Regions from separate parts of the Homo sapiens genome. Here region 1 is linked to region 2. The links are contacts of gene promoters, found by promoter capture Hi-C in blood cells and fetal thymus (Javierre and others, 2016). All regions are on one chromosome and are shown on one strand. The core of a region is centred on a gene start or on the middle of the fragment in contact, and the rest is flanking DNA. Distances in the headings are between cores, read along the strand shown.

What was found. The method cuts DNA at HindIII sites, captures the fragments that hold promoters and counts their contacts. A CHiCAGO score of 5 or more calls a contact.
Region 1: a contact is called between a fragment that was not itself captured here and the fragment with the promoter of TYRO3 in region 2, in 1 of 17 cell types (M1 macrophages). The highest score is 5.5, in M1 macrophages.

What each region holds. Positions count from the first base shown.
Region 1 is chr15:41,736,338-41,741,786 of GRCh38, reverse strand. It overlaps MGA (MAX dimerization protein MGA), which reads right to left. Exons shown (of 24, transcript NM_001400225.1): 13 at 5,089-5,449; 14 at 1,584-1,881. Among named protein-coding and RNA genes, the nearest start is that of MAPKBP1, 35 kb to the left of the region's middle. The HindIII fragment of the contact is 2,708 bases long and covers 2,434-5,141 here.
Region 2 is chr15:41,557,277-41,562,406 of GRCh38, reverse strand. TYRO3 (TYRO3 protein tyrosine kinase) reads right to left here and starts at 3,195. Exons shown (of 19, transcript NM_006293.4): 1 at 3,026-3,195; 2 at 1,097-1,280; 3 at 768-868. The coding sequence starts at 3,149. It also overlaps the pseudogene ELOCP2. RefSeq lists enhancers at 1-34, 2,067-2,708, 3,275-3,776 and silencers at 2,580-2,780, 3,087-3,256, 3,267-3,406, 3,345-3,511, 3,457-3,546. The HindIII fragment of the contact is 16,850 bases long and covers 517-5,130 here.

The DNA.
Region 1 (5,449 bases), core at 2,538-5,037, 180 kb before region 2:
TGAAATGAGATAGTGCCACTGCACTCCAGCCTGGGAGACAGAGCAAGACTCTGTCTTGAAAGAAAAATTAAAAAATTAAATAGAGTGTTCCTACTAAAATTCTTTTGACTGTGCAATATATTCAAACTGTCAGGATACTAAAAAGACAATACAGTAGCAAAAACTTCATCACCTAATACAGATAAAAGAAAATGAGAGGGTTTGTTTCCCCCAATTTCTAATGTAAAAACTTGTTTCTACCATTTCCTCCTGTCTGAGCACTCTCACCTCTTTACAGCTGTGCTATTATGAGATGCTTACGTATTACATATTCCTAAAATATATAAAGACATTTCTCCAAACAGATCAGGATAGGATTGCTTTTTTTACTCCCCTTAATCACAACTGAAGCTGCCTTAATAAAAGGTAAAATAGATTCTTTTTTTTTTTTTTTTTTTTTTGGAGATGGAGTCTCACTCTGTCACCAGGCTGGAGTGCAGTGGCACGATTTCGGATTACTGCAACCTCTGCCTCCCGGGTTCAAGTGATTCTCCTGCCTCAGCCTCCCCAGTAGCTGGGACTACAGGCGCATGCCACCACTCCCGGCTAATTTTTGTATTTTTAGTAGAGATGGGGTTTCACCATGTTGGCCAGGATGGTCTCTATCTCTTGACCTCGTGATCCACCCGCCTCGGCCTCCCAAAGTGCTGGAATTACAGGAGTGAGCCACCGCGCCCGGCCAAAATAGGTTTTAAGGCAAACAATAAATATCTTCTATCTTCACACAACTCTAACCATTCAGCCAGAGATTTCAACTGACACTCTTACCTAACATTCCTAACAGATTTGAAACAACAAAAAGAGGAATTCAATAAACCAACTATAGATACTCTCAATGCTAAAACACAAATGTTTCAAGAAGGTAATTTATTACAGACTTCAGCATTTAAATGTTAAGGAAAAGAGAGATTTTCATTCATAGAACAGAGATGAATGGAATAAATCAACACTTTCAAAATTGTATTTATAGGAGCTTTCCACTTTAAGCCTATACTACTTACACCACTAGCTTTTGCTAGCTCCTTGGTTTCATAAGTTTAAGAAGTATCAACAGAAGCATTTACATAGCACCAGCAAGAGTTCAACAAGAGGCCAGAAACACCAGTCCTCACAGGAAAATAGTAAACTATTTTTAATTTAGTAAAATATTTTAGTAAATAATTTAGTATAATAGTAAACTATTTTTAAATGTCTTCCCTTTTTAGAAACAAAATTAAAATCCTTAAGTCTTTTCTACATTAATAACAACCAGTCTGAAAACCTTAAAAATAACTATAAAACTTGCCTTCAAGTCAGTGTTATTAAAAAATAAAAAATATATATAAAACCAAGAAATTAACTATAAAACAACTCAATTCATCTAATATTGCAGGTTATCAGACGTTAACCCCAAACAATCAAAAAAGTCCAGGCAAGACAGACAACAAGAATAAGAATAATGCCAAAGTACATATTTCTCTAATTTTTACAACCTCCATACCTGTACCCACTGTCCCACCACCAAGTCATAGGCCTTTCCAAACCATACATACACCCCAACTTACCAATTGGCCGTTTTGCTGGGACAAACGCCTTCAGATTCTTCCCAGGGCGATTTGTTGCAGTGCCAGAGGAGGATGCCATTTTGGAATTGGATGTTGAAGGCAACAGGGTACGTGGTTTCCTGGATGCAGCCACCTTGGCATTGGATGCTACCTTGGAGATGACAGTACTGAGGGTTGAGAGGTCCAGGACTGAGGGTCGCAACCTGCCTGTGATATAAGCAGCTAGCCTATTGGCTGGATGCAATGCCCCCATCTGTCCCAATAGCAACTTAGCCTGCGGGTAACTCTTACCATTAACCTGAAACAAGTGGCAAAGAGAAATTCTGTAAAGATAAAATTCTCTTGCTAACTCCTCTCCCTTGACAGGGGCTTCATTTTTACAAGTTTTCATAAGTCTATTTTTCAGATTTAAAAGGGAAAAAGAAGTAGACTTTTTCCATTTAGAATAATCTGAGTAATCAGAAGGTAGAAAAATGCTGTCAACTGATATTCTGAACTAATCTCATCTCCTTCATATTGTAGTTTGAAAATAGAGAATCGGAAACTCATCATTTCTGCATCCTAGTTATGTGAAAGTTATCATCAAATCTAAACAACTAGAATTATCCAATTGTTTTCCTTGTAAATAAGGCATTCTGGTTAAGCTATTAACCTCATCAGCAAAAATGAGTGTCCCACAGAATCTCTCTGATAAGACCAGAGAGACATAATGAAGCTCTCACACAAGGGTCCTTTCAAGCATCCTTCATATTTGAAAAATATAAGTGAAATCTACTTTAAGTTATAAGACAATCATTGTTGCAATAACCTAAGCCACAATTACCTCACAGTTTTTCATTTTCAAAAAGCTTAGCTTTGAAAATACTATTTTCATCTCTTGGATAAAACATGGGTTCAAACTGAATGTTGGTACGAACTCATTCTTATTCTAGACATAATTAACTAAATAGTCAGAAGAAAGTGAACCAACAAATGAAGTAAAGATCCCCTCTGCTGCCTGAGTTTATCAGACTGCCCATCATGGGTACCAGCACAGTTGTTTTTTGTGGGGGTTGATTTCTTTTCTTTTTTTTTTAAAGAAAGAAAACAAAAACTTCCCAAGTCTCTACCCATGTTCTCTAGGTCATATTGCCAGGCAACTCTAGAGAAGATAACCTTTTCTATATTTCCTTTTCACCATTTCAAAATCGGGGGTTGGGGGAGATGGAGTGAGGTAGAATCTACTCTCTAACAGGGAACTGGTGAGGAGACCAGCTACAGCAAGCAACTCCATCTTCAGAGACACAAAACAAAATTACTCTTTGCTACTTTGGTTAAATTGTGATTATTCCCACAGAGATCAAGAATATCTCTGCCTTGAGTTTGGTACAAAGAATGTGATCATTCCCCCTGAAAGTAGACTTTACTGTAACTTTTCAGGCTATACAGAAATAGGTCAGATACCCCCTCCCGGATCCCTTGGGACTGCGCTGAAGCCTACTCTGCAGCTTCCCCAAAGTTTACAAAGTTTACAGTTGCCTGACTGCTTATGCAGACACATTCTATGGTGGCTTTGTGAGTCCTGGGCAGAAGACAACAAAAAATTTCCATGCTTGTATTTTAGGGAGTCTAGTCTCACTAGAAATTGTATCAGGCAAACCTCTGTTTTCAAAGTGTCAATCAATATATAAGGTAGAGAAAATACTGTTCTCCTCATCAAGAGTATAAGAAATATCAACAGAAGCATTTACATAGCATGCACAACAGTAAACTGCAATAATAAGTTTTTTAATTAAGTAGATCAATCATATTAATATTATTTTCTCTTTTGAGATGGAGTCTCACTCTGTCGCCCAGGCTGGAATGCAGTGGCGTGATCTCGGCTCACTGCAACCTCTGCCTCCCAGGTTCAGGCGATTCTCCTGCCTCAGCCTCCTAGCTGGGATTACAGGCACACGCCACCATGCCCGGCTAATTTTTGTATTTTTAGTAGAGATGGGGTTTCACCATGTTGGTCAGGCTGGTCTTGAACTCCTGACCTCATGATCTACCCGCCTTCACCTCCCAAAGTGCTGGTATTACAGGTGTGAGCCACCATGCCCAGCCTATATCAATCATATTATTAATGGAGAAGTCCTTAGTGACTTAGAAGCAGCCAATCTAATGAAAGTCAAGCTAACTTTGCAATAATATCAGACACTTCCACACATTTGCTACTCTAATATAAAAGTGCACTTTTTTTTTTTTGAGACAATCTCCCTCTGTTGCCCAAGCTGGAATACAGTGGCACAATCTCAGCTCACTGCAACCTCCACCTCCCAGGTTCAAATGATTCTCCTGCCTCAGCCTCTCAAGAAGCTGGGATTACAGGCGCGCGCCACCACGCCGGGCTAACTTTTTTATTTTTAGTAGAAATGGGGTTTTGCCATGTCGGCCAGGCTAGTCTCAAACTCCTTGCCTTAGGTGATCCACCACCTCGGCCTCCCAAAGTGCTGGGATTACAGGCGTAAGCCACTGCGCTCAGCTAGAAAAACCTTTTCTGACTATGACATTAATTCAGAACGTCTCTTTTCAAATTTTCTATATGCCAGTATAATTTTACTAATACAACCTGCGTGAATTACTAAGTATCAAGGATAAAGGTATTTGTCCTACAACAGTTACACTAACAAAACCCCTACGAATCAAATAAAGAAAAAATATAATTAAGTAAATATGGCTGAATTTTTACTCTTGTATTTAAATAACACCTTACTAAATTAAAATTTTCAGCCATGCATGGTGGCTCACCCCTGTAATCCTAGCACTTTGGGAGGCCAAGGTGGGTGGATCACCTGAGCTCAGAAGTTCGAGACCAGCCTGGACAACATGGCGAAACCCCGTCTCTACTAAAAAAAAAACAAAAACAAAAAAAAACACACACAAACACAAAATTAGCCAGGTGTGGTGTCACATGCCTGTAATCCCAGCTACTTGGGAGGCTGAGGCACAAAGAATTGCTTGAACCCAGGAGGCAGAGGTTGCTGTGAGCCAAGATTGCAATAAATAAATAATAAATAAAAATTTTTAAAATTTTCCCCAAGTTTCTAAACATATATTGCCTATCTTTAAGTCAATTTCATCTTCCCCTTACACCTACCGTTCTAACCATGGTTTTGTTTTGAAACCTATCTGCTAATAATAAATTCCAAGAGCTAGACTGAATCCCTGATTACCCTTGCTTTATTGTCAAAGTATCACTAGAGCCTGCAGGCAATAAAGTTTATGAAGAGCAACTTTCTGGGAAGATTAGAAAGAAAATTAAAACTAATACAAGGCTCTACGTTTCTGTTCATAAATGTGACAAAAATTCACTCTAGGTATGCATCTAAACTAGGCCTATTACAAAAAGAGATAATAATTTTGTCACCCAGTTCCCAGGAAATGTCAAGATAAAGGATATCAGGACCATAAAGGGCTCTGAAAAATCATGATACTACCTAGGTGTATACAAAGGTGCTATACCCAGATTAAAGATAATTCTCACCTGGATAAGCCCAGATGTACTTGAACTGGGTTTACGTTTATAGGCCACAAGCTTCCCTGCAGGAGAAAGCCCTGCATAAAAAGGCAGACCTTTGCCTCCATGTAATCTCTCCCTCACTGAATCCAGGGCATCTGTCTGCACAGGAGAGATATCCTCCATTTTCCCAGGGGACAATGGACCATCAGGAGTCTCTGATCCAGATTTCTCAGCCATATCATCTTGGTCTTGACATGATGGCATAGAGATTTTCACACGAGAAGAATAAACAGGAGGGTTCTTCTCACCCCGGCTCTTTCGCTGAGAAGCCAACTCAATGATGAAGCTGCCCACCTTAAGTGATTGTGGCATGTTGCTATTGATG
Region 2 (5,130 bases), core at 1,946-4,445:
CATCTAGCTTGAGAGGTAGGCGGTGCTTCTCTTTTTCAGGCTCCTTAGGAATTTTTTTTTTTTTTTTTTTTTTTTGAGATTGGTCGCGGGGAGGTCTCTCTATGTTGCCCAGGCTGGCCTGGAACTCCTGGGGGCTCAAGTGATCCTCTGGCCTTAGCCTCCGGAGTAGCTGGGACTACAGGCACACGCCACCATGCCTGGCACCTTAGACACATCTTCCATGCTGCCCCCTTAGGCATGGCAGATTTGGACAGCTCTTCTTGCAGTAAGAGAGGAGACTGGGGGTGGAGAGCTGGGAGAGGGGCATAAAACTCAGGGGAGTGGGTGAGAGCTTTAGCAGAGTTCTGCTGCCAGGCCCCAGCTCCCATTCAGGGCCCTTTGTTACTTTCTTAGTCACTTTGTTTTCCTGGGCTGAACAGCTCTGAGCTCCCGCAGCTGCAGAGCCTTCCTCCCCTCCCCCTGCTGGCCAGGCCACTTGGCAGAACAGGGTCCAGTCCCAGATGGATGCTTGAAGCTTGTTGCTCAAGCAACGGAAACAGACTGCACCCCACAGGTTGTGGATCCCAGTTGGTCCCTTGGTTCTCAGATACCCAACTCCAACTGGTAGGGTCTTCCGACATCTGGAGTGGGCCTACAGCCTGGACAACCAGGCCCCACAGAGCAGTGGGGCAGCCCAGCTTCTACTGAGTTCTCCGCTGCAGAGGTATAGTCACCAGCAGACAGCACGTGCTCCAGGCCAACACGCCCATATGGCTCTGCCTCCTCACCTTCTACCGTGAGCCACACTGGCTGGGAGATCTCGGTTTCACCCCCATCCTCCACCTGGCACCAGTACCGGCCGGCGTCAGAGCGCTCCACTGACTTCAGGCTGTGGAAACAGGATACGAGGCTTGCTTCCGAGGGCAAGGGCGGCAGCTCTGCTGGGCAAACTTGATGAGTTCAGCCTGCCCCCACTTCTGGAAGGTCCCACAGGTAGCCAAATAAAAAAACCACAGACCTCTGGGCATCAGGAGAGGGCCCCAGCTCCCAATCCCCAAGGAAAGAGCATAGCCTGCCCCCTGGCTGGCAGCCCACACCTTCCCCCACAGGCCTGCACCTGAGGAAGCCGATCCAGTGCTGCTCGCTGACTGGGATGTACAACTGGTCCAAGTTCTGGACCACAGCCCCATCCTTCACCCACTGGATGTCAGGCTCCTCCATCCCCTCCACACTGCAGTTGAGCTTCACCGGCTGCCCCTGAGACACTGTCAGCTTCACCGGGGCTCCCATGAGCTTCAGACCTGAGGGGTGGGAAGGAACATGTGTCAGCCTTGAGAGGGACTCTGTCTCTGTAAACAGTTCCCATTCTCTTCTAGAAGGTAGCTTCTGTGTCAGACAGAGGGCTCTTTCTCAGCCAAAGTCAAGGAAGCAGAGGTAGGACAGTGTGGAAGGGAAGGTCGCTGGACCTGGGCGAAGGGAAGGGGCATGGCAAGCTCTCCAAGTTCCCTCCGGCTCTAAGGACCTCTTCCCCATGTCCTCCTTCTGAGCCCAGACAGCAAAAGGAAGGCAGGCTGGGCTGAAACGATGGGAGTTACCCTACTGGGGCAGGCACTGCTCTAGGAATGACTGCTGCACCCAACTAGTGCAACAGGCTGCCAGCTCTCCACCCAAGGTGTCAGCCCAGACCCTGAATTGCTGCCAGCACCCTCTGCACCCAACCTTACCAAATGGAGCAGGGCTGAAGAAGGAAAGGAGGGGGTGCTCCCCTGAAGTGGAGAACATATGGCTGCAAAACCACGTCAGATCAAACACATGGCAGCCTTCCTGGCAGCCATCCACTCTATTAATACCTGAATGTGGGCAGGGGCGAGTGCTAGGAAGGTGGGAGGCAGAAGGGAGGGCTGGGGCCCTGAGCAGGGAGCCTAAGACCCCTGAGCCACTGCCACATTAACAGGGGCCACTCTTTGGAACTTGCGTGCGAGCGCGCGCGCGCGCGCGCACACACACACACACACACACACACACACACACACATACACGCACCTCTCCTGGCCTCCTGGCATGTTTTTAAGCAGAGAGAGGGGCAGGTCAAGTATCCACATAACTGAAATCCAGCCCTGCTTCTTCTCACCCTTTGCTGTGTGACTCTAGGCAAAGTCGTGGGCTCCCTGAGCATCAGGTCCGCACCTTTCGGCTTGTAAATACTCGTCACCCCGTTTCCCTTCCCTTCCCTGAGAGGCTGATATGGCAAGGAATGCTGTCTCAAGAGAAGATGCCAGCGGGTGGCCGCTGTCCTGGCCTGTGGCTCTTCCCTGCTCCCTTCACCCTCTCAGGACCAGTCACAGGATGGGGGCCAGCCTCCCGCTCCCTATATGCCCATCAGTCCCCGAGGTGCGGGGTGGGAACTTGGAGAGCACCGTGCTGCATGGAACGCTCTTGTCACCAGCAAATGCCTCAGTGGCTATGTGGGAACACAAGACTAACCCCTCCCAAAGACCAGCAACCTGGCACCAGCCCATCCTCTCCAAGGTTCTGCTTTCAGGAAGCTCTGAGGGCACAGGAACTCGAGTGTGCCCATTTGTTTTTTGTGACTGGGCACCCTCACAGCCCCTGTGTACCTAAATGGTATCAGGGTGGCCTTTGGGTGCCCAGCCCCGGCCCGTGTGGTTTCCGAGGCGGACCTTCGCGTGCGGGGCAGGCAGAATGGGGTCCCCAGTACTGGGAAGGAGGGAGCTAACAGCTGGGAACATCGAGGCGGGAAAATGCAGTCCCAAACACTCCCCGCTGACCACACAGCCCACACCCCGCTCCCTTCTCTTCCACCCCGCCAGAAGAGCCCCGAGCGCCAGAAAGTTGGGGGTGGGGGCCCGGCCGGAGATCTGGCGGCGAGCACTCCGCAGCGTGCCCTGTCCCGGCTCCGAGCCTCGGCCTTCGGCTCCGGACCCCCACCCCGACTCCAGCCCGCCAGGCCCGCCCCGGGCTCCGACCCCCGGCCGCGCCCCTCCGCAGCCCCCCGCTTCCCGCCGCCTCCCGTGCCAGCCCCTACCTGCGGCGGCGGACTCCGGGAGCAGCAGAGAAGCCAGAGCCGCCAGCAGCAGCCCGAGCCGCGGTGGCGGCGGCAGCGGCAGCGGCGGGAGCCCCGGCCGCCCCATGCTCCGCCTCAGCGCCATCGGCGGCGACGCCGCACCATGCCGGGCCCGGCCCGCGAGCGAGGAGGGAGGAGGGCGGGGAGGAGGCGGCGGGAAGGGAGCGGGAGGGAGGAGGGCTGCGGGAGGGGCTGGGGCCGCCCGTGGGGCGGTGCTGAGGCGACCGCCTCCGAGACCCGCGCCCGCCTCCGGCCGCGGTCGCCGCCGTCAGCAGCGCGGGGTCCCCGGGGCCGCTCCCGCGCCACCGCGCTCCTTCCACTGCCGTCGCCGCCGTCGCCGCCGCTGATTCATGTTCTTCTCGGAGCCGCCGCCTCCTCCCGGCCCGCCCGCAGCCCGAGCTCGCACCGCCCCCCCGCGGAGCCCCGGCGACTGGCTCGGAGCGCGAATCCCAGCCAGCGCCGCAAACCCCCGCGGCCCCGCCGGCGCCCCGCCGGCACGCCGGCCCCAGCCGCCCCCTGGCCAAACCTGAGGATCCGGCTTGGCCTCCAGGATGGGCTCCCCGGCCACGCCCCTCCTTTCCCTAAACCCGCTCCGGCATCTTTTCTAACCCAGCCCTCCAGAGCCTTCCCTCAAAACCCCGCTGTCAGCCCCCACCACACCCCAACTCTTGTTCGGACTCTGATCCCAGAATCCAGCATCCCCCTCTCAGGACTTAGAGCACCTCAACCCCTAGACACTCCCATCCATCTGGCTCCCCGAAACTGCCGTGACCCGGGGCTCCCCCAACAGGATCGGCTAGCATCCCTTCGTGCCTCCCTTTCATTGAGCCATTCACCCAAAATCCCCATATTCATGTCCTATTGCCATGCCTTTATCTCCAAGTCCCTCCCACCTGAAAAATGCCCATTTTCTCCAGCCCCAATTGCCGTATGTTTTCCAACTTGGGTCCTGAGTTTCCCAAGATCTTGGTAATCCCCAGGTTTTACCTAATATATATCCCCACCACTACACTACACAGGCCAAAGCCTAATTGCCCGTATCTTTTTGGGCTGTCATTTTTCCTGGTTGCTTCCCCTGCTTCTACCCCTTTTCCCAGGACCTGGTGTGAAAGTTGGCTGTGTCGTCACACTGTCCAGTCAAACATTAGCTATTATTAGTAGACCACCTTGCACACAGTAGGCTTTCCATAAATAAATAGGCAGATGCCTGTTAAATGAATGAATAATTGCTTCAGAGCCTGCCCCACAACCAGTAATCACGAGGGTGGCCTTGCCCACAGACATCCTGTTAGGCACATGCAGAGCTGGTTCCAAACCAAGCCTACCAAGTGTGCTCCTCCCCTTGCCCTTCCCTCCAGGGGGAAGCCCACCCCACACCCCTTCCAGAGGTCCTGGGTAGAGAGGAGGGACCAGCCACTCAGCTCCGGTTGCCGCAGGCTCACTGGATCTTTTCAGGGATTCTCCTGAGCAGCAGGGGCCTGCCTCTTCTTCCACTTGGCCCCAGCAGTGCTTGTTTATTAATTACCCTAATGATAACAACAGCAGTGCTGGCAGCAGCCTGAGACCCAGCTGGGGGCGCCCCCAGGCGGCAGCAGGAGGAGAGACTCATGAGGCACTGTCAAGACATGGATGGCAGGGGCCAGATATCTCTGTCTCTGTTTCTTTCTTTTTTTTTTTTTAATTGGCATATTTGTTTATTTCTCAGTTTGTGAAAATGTTCTTAATTTGTTGATGTAGCAAACAAATTTCAACTTTGATTGCTATGAAAAAAACAAGATAATCTGCTTTGCAATGAACTTTATATAGTTAAACTGCATACAGGCAACATGCTATATATGAAAAAGTTACTAACTGATCTACAGGTATTACATACTGAAAAGAGTTAACAGTTTATTATAATTTATTTTATTTAACAATCTAGGAAGTTCGCAGCCATCAGCAGTTCTAGTACAATTTCAGGTGCAATTGGGAATTCAGGAATCTCGATGGAGCTGTTAGTGTAGCGAACCTTGTAGGTAAAATACATGCATACTTTCGATAGCACATGTGAAGGTATCTCTCTAAAA